2 separate regions of the Homo sapiens genome follow, and region 2 is linked to region 1. The links are contacts of gene promoters, found by promoter capture Hi-C in human tissues and cell types (Jung and others, 2019). All regions are on one chromosome and are shown on one strand. The core of a region is centred on a gene start or on the middle of the fragment in contact, and the rest is flanking DNA. Distances in the headings are between cores, read along the strand shown.

Region 1 (2,669 bases), core at 96-2,595:
GGCGGGCAGAGTAGCACGCTCTGAGGACGCCTGGGCGGGCAGGGCGGGCACTCACCTGGCATGGGGAGCCGGCTCGGCAGCGCGTAGCACAGACCCGCCGCCAAAAAATGGCACAGCAGCGGCGGCGTTGTGTCGAAGCGCGTCTACCAGCACCTTGCAGCTCTTGGCCAGCTGCGCCTTGGCCTCCCAGAAGGAAAGACAGCCCGAGGGAGCCGTAGGGGCCGGCAGCCCCAGGACCACCAGCGGCTTCATGTCCATGCGCTGCAAGAAGGCCAGGGCAAAGGCCAGACTGGATACGCCCTGCTGGCACTTGAGCACCTCCTCGTCCACCTGCGGAGGAGTGGGCTTTCAAGGAGCGTGACACGGACCTGAGCCGCTGGCTCCCACAGCCTGGCCTGCAGGGCCGTCTCGGTGACCCTACCCTTCCAGAAGCTGTCAGGACCCAGTTCTGGCCACCAGTGCCCACCTGCTCCGCCCTTTGCCCCGTTGGGTCTTGCCACTCCCTTGTCTCACGCTGGGGTACCTCCCGCCCTCCTCCCTCCGACCTTGGACTCCGGGACATCTTTGGGGGAGGGGCAGTGCAAGCGGCTCCTGTCCAGGTCCTTCTGAACCCCTAACTGCGCCCATGTTGGGGGCCTTCTTCAGAGCATCACACCTGGCGGGTGGGGTCCCCCAGGATCCTCACTCGGGCTGGGCGGGAGGCTTCCGGAGGAGCTTACGGCCTCTCCCATTCCCGGCGGCGCTGGTCTGGGCCCTGCCGGGCTCCTTCCCGCTTCCGCTGCGCAGAGCCCGCAGCGTATCCTGCCATGCCTGAGGACAGGTGGCCGCACAACCCCATCCCCTCGCTGCGTCACGGCCCACGCCGGGCTCCGCTCACCTCGATGACGGCGAAGGGCTTGTCCGCGGAGTGATGGCAGGTCTGGAACTGCGTGAGCCAGTGGCGCGCCTCCCCAGGGCTGGCCCCGCACTGGTTCAGGAAGGCCTGGATGTCCCGCTGCACCAGCGAGCGGCCCGAAGGAGGCTCTGGGGACTCGTGGGGCACCGGGGGCCTGGGACTCGGCACCCACGACGGCTCCTCGGCGACGGGCGACTGGGAGACGTCGTCCGCGCCCGCGTACTCCTCGGGCGGGGGCTGGGGCTGCGACCAGGCGGTGCTGAGCCGGCGCCCCGGGCTGGTGCCCCTCGCCGCCCGCCGCCGCGCGCCACAGCTCAGCCTTCGGGCGCCCCCAGTGCCTCCCCGGCCTCTCAGCCTCGGGGCTACAGCAGCTGCCCGCAGAACCACAGCCATCAGCGCCGTCGCCATGACGACAACCAACTCTTGCCCCCCAAGAGTGGCAGTCTGTCTGGAGCGTCTGGCACTGGGGGGCTCTTAACTTGCCGTTGGGCGGGGCTGGACCTGGTCGGGGCGGGGTCCGGACAGGGGACCAGGAGTCTCCTCTGGGTGCGTTTGAGGAGGGTCAGGCCATGAGTCAGGGGGCGGGGCCACTAGGCTCCCCCGCCCCTGGAGGAACTGAACCCACTATCGGTCATGGGGCCGAGACTAAATGTGGCGGGTTGTCTTTAATCTGCTGCCAAGGTAGGTTCCAGGGGCGGCTTTGGGAGTCTGCAGGGCCTTGGATGATTGGCATTCTGACCAGAGAAGAAGGGACTGTAGGTGGCTTTGAGCACAGGGCTGGGCAGGGGGCTGGAAGGAGGGCGCTGGAAAGAGTAGAAGAAGGGGGGCAGTGGGAGGGCGGGGGCGGGTGGTGCTGGCCTTGTCTGTCCTGTTGCCTGAGCTCAAAAAAGATCCTAATGAATGACCATGAGGTTACCAGGGTTTGCCAAACTCCAGTCACTGGGTACCAGCTTGAGGAATTCTGTGATATCCTCAAAACACCCCTCAAAACTTATAATACTTTAGTGTTAATGCTTTTCTTTATCGAATATCACATCTGGTAAAAATAAAATAAAATAGAGTTTTTTATTTTGGTTTTTGAGATAGGGTCTCACTCTGTTGTTGCCCAGGCTGCAGTACAGTGGTGCAATCATAGCTCACTGCAGCCTCCACCTCCCAGGTTCAAATGATCCTCCTGCCTCAGTCTCCCTAGTAGCTGGGACCACAAATGCACACCACCATGCCCAGCTGATTTAAAAAAAAATTATTTTTTTTGAAGACGGGTGTTCACCATGTTGCCCAGACTGTTCGTGAACTCCTGAGCTCAAGCAGTCCTCCCACTTCTGCCTCCCAAGGTGCTGGGATTACAGGTGTGAGCTACTTCACTCGACCTCTGTAACCCTTTTTTTTTTTTTTTTTTTTGTTTGTTTGTTTGTTTGAGATGGAGTCCCACCCTATTGCCCAGGCTGGAGTGCAGTGTTGCGATCTCGGCTCACTGTAATCCCCGCCTTCTGGGTTCAAGCGATTCTCCTGCCTCAGCCTCCTGAGTAGCAGGGATTACAGGCAGACACCATCACACCCGGCTAATCTTTGTATTTTTAGTAGAGACAGGGTTTCACCATGTTGGCCAGGATTGTCTCAAACTCCTGACCTCGTGATCCACCTGCCTCAGCCTCCCAAAGTGCTGGGATTACAGGCGTGAGCCACCACGCCCGGCCCTCTTTAACCTTTTTAAACTTAAAGTTTATCCATGTTAGGTCTGTAACTAGGCCAGTATCACTTGCCATAAGCCTTA
Region 2 (2,669 bases), core at 103-2,602, 310 kb before region 1:
AGGTCCTTCAGCTGCGACTCGCGCAGACGCACCAGCTCCTCCAGGTAGCCCTGCGGGGCGCCGGCTCAGCCCGGGCGGCTGGGAGGACGTCCCGGCCGCGGCCCCCATCCCCGCCCCGCCCCGGGATGCCCGGATCCCCCGCCCGGCCCGCCCGCCCCCCGGGCCCGCCGGCGTCGCGCACCTTCTGCGCGTAGACGATGCGGAACTTCTGCTCCATCTTGTGCCACTTGCTGTACCAGCTGTCCTCATCGGTGACGAGCGGGAGGTACGGGTGCTCGGGCGAGTTGTCCTCGCTCGTGCTGCTCTCGGCGCTGTGCCGCTCCTCCTCGTCCGTCAGGTAGTCGTAGCTTGGGAGAGGGAGCAGTGGGCACGGCCGGTCCCGCCCCTCCCCCCGCGCGTCTGCGCTGGCCGCTGAGGGCGGTGGGACCAGGACGTCCCCAGGATGTCCCGAGGCCCCGTCCCCCGCCCCGCCGCAGTCATGGAGCCGCTCACCTCTGCGTGAACTTTAGGTAGGGCGTGTAATCGATGACCACGGGGGTCTTCCCGTCCAGGACTTCCCCCTTTAGACAGAAGCTGAGGCAGAGGAGCCACAGGGTTGGAGGTGGGTGTGAGGGGTTGGGGTAGGACATTTATGGGGGAAACAGCCCCCTCCACCACTGCCGTCAGGCAGACCCCACCTGAAGTCGATGGCGCTCAGTCCGATCAGCATTCCGGTGAGGATGGTGGCTTCATCCCGCAGCATGATGGCTCCAGAGTCATAGAACCGTCTGTGGGGAGGCAGAGGGCCAGAGGATGCAGCAGGCCCCTGGAGCGCCCCCCCCCCCCCCAGAGCTGCTATTGTTGGCTTACTGCCACCCCATCCTGAAGGAAGGCCAATTCTCCTTCCTGATCTGCACGCAGGCCTGGAGCCTCTCTCCCCCTTCAGCCTGGGGCTCGCACCTGTGGCCCCATCACCTAGAATGGGTGTTCCCTGAGCCGACTCCTCCCTCTGAGCTACCCCTTCCTCATCAAGTACTGGGTTACCCAGATCCTTCATATCAGGAAGCAAGTCTTAATCATTAGTGCTTGGTATACAGTAGGTGCGCAAAAAACGTGTTAACTTGAAACGTGTAGACTGAGGAATGGAATTCAGTAAAAACATCAGGCTGGGTATGGCCAATTGGGATGGGGAGGTATATGCCCCCCGCCACACCCAGACAGCTTCAGATGCACCTGCCCACACAGGCACACTCCTCCTTGTAACCCCTTGCCTCAGGCACCCAACCTCCCTGTGAACCCACAGTGCAGGGATTGAACTCCCCATATAAGGACTCTGTGTCCGTGAATAGCAAGTACAGAACTGCTTTCGTTGTTTGGAGAGACAGAAGGGCTGTGTTGTAGATCATGGAGCAAGCCAACACTTGAGATGGTGCATGGCTGAGGCTCATCCAGAGGTGTGCAAGGGTGGAGCGTGCTGGGCATTGATGGCAAATAATGGGCATTAGATTTGACTTGCAAGTGGTGGTGGTGGTGGTGGTAAAAGTTTGTCCTGGGGCCAGGAGCGGTGGCTCATGCCTGTAATCCCAGCACTTTGGGAGGCCAAGGCGGGAGGATCACCTGAGGTTGGGAGTTTGAGACCAGCCTGACCAACATGGAGAAACTAAAAATACAAAATTAGCTGGGCATGGTGGCGTATGCCTGTAATCCCAGCTACTCAGGAGGCTGAGGCAGGAGAATCGCTTGAACCCAGGAGGCGGAGGTTGCAGTGAGCCGAGATCGCGCCATCGCACTCCAGCCTGGGCAACAAGAGCGAAACTCCTTCTCAAAAAAAAAAAAAAAAAAAAGAGTTCGTCCTGGGACTGCAGGCCAGGCTGGAAGAGGGAAATCAGCCATGTGTGCTGGTGCTGGGACTTGTAGTCCAGGAACTGAAGGATGCTGCAGGAACTTAAGGATCAGCTGTGTTTGGGCAATGCAGGTGCACTCTGAGACCTGTGGTCTGAGTTGCCTGGGAAGTCTGACCTGGTGGTCCGGGTGTCACGCAGAGCCGTGGTGATGTATTCTGACATGCGCTTCTCCATCAGTGCCACCCGGATCCATGCCCGGCCCTGGAAATCATGTTCACCTTTACTTGCTGCCCCAGAGGGACTCATGTGTCCAGCATCAGGTGTGGGCCCTTCTCCCCTGGGCTGTGCACAGGGGGCAAAAACCAAGAAACAGGCAGGCCCCCTGTGTCCAGAGCAGAGAGCAGTTGCTTGCTTCAGGCCCCTCACCTTGGCCCGGGCTGTGCTGATGTTCTCCATGTTCTCGATGCTGCTCACACAGTTGTTGGGCACTTTGCTGCAGGCCAGCCGGATATAGTCCCAAAAGCCCCGCTGCCCGTCTGAGCTGAACCAGCTCACTGGACCTGCTGGGGCACAGGCTGAGCCAGGGCAGGGAGGGGGCTCAGCAAGACCAGGGAGTTTGGAGAGGGTCCATGTAGTGAGGCACTCACATGCATAAGCATAAGCAGCCTCCTCCCACAAAGATCTGTGCACACACATGCACGTGTGCAGTGGGCACCCCAGCATATCGCTTGCCCATGATGGGGATTGTAGGCCAAAGGCCTCTCCCTCTTCCCAGATCTGTACACAAGCTTCTGTGCATGGCCCAGAATGGGGGCCAGGGTCAATGAGGGGGTTCAGAGTCCATGG

Evidence for each region. Contacts are between HindIII fragments. The study calls those that stand out against the background at their distance.
Region 2: a fragment that was not itself captured here is called in contact with the fragment with the promoter of NAGS in region 1 in 1 of the 25 tissues and cell types used here (spleen).

The regions. Positions count from the first base shown.
Region 1 is chr17:44,003,298-44,005,966 of GRCh38, reverse strand. NAGS (N-acetylglutamate synthase) reads right to left here and starts at 1,345. Exons shown (of 7, transcript NM_153006.3): 1 at 878-1,345; 2 at 56-330. The coding sequence starts at 1,303. It also overlaps a transcript of PYY not described here. RefSeq lists an enhancer at 1-422. The HindIII fragment of the contact is 21,260 bases long and covers 1-2,669 here.
Region 2 is chr17:44,312,833-44,315,501 of GRCh38, reverse strand. It overlaps RUNDC3A (RUN domain containing 3A), which reads right to left. Exons shown (of 11, transcript NM_001144825.2): 3 at 2,250-2,398; 4 at 1,999-2,084; 5 at 678-767; 6 at 493-573; 7 at 182-347; 8 at 1-50. Among named protein-coding and RNA genes, the nearest start is that of RUNDC3A, 5.6 kb to the right of the region's middle. The HindIII fragment of the contact is 4,634 bases long and covers 1-2,669 here.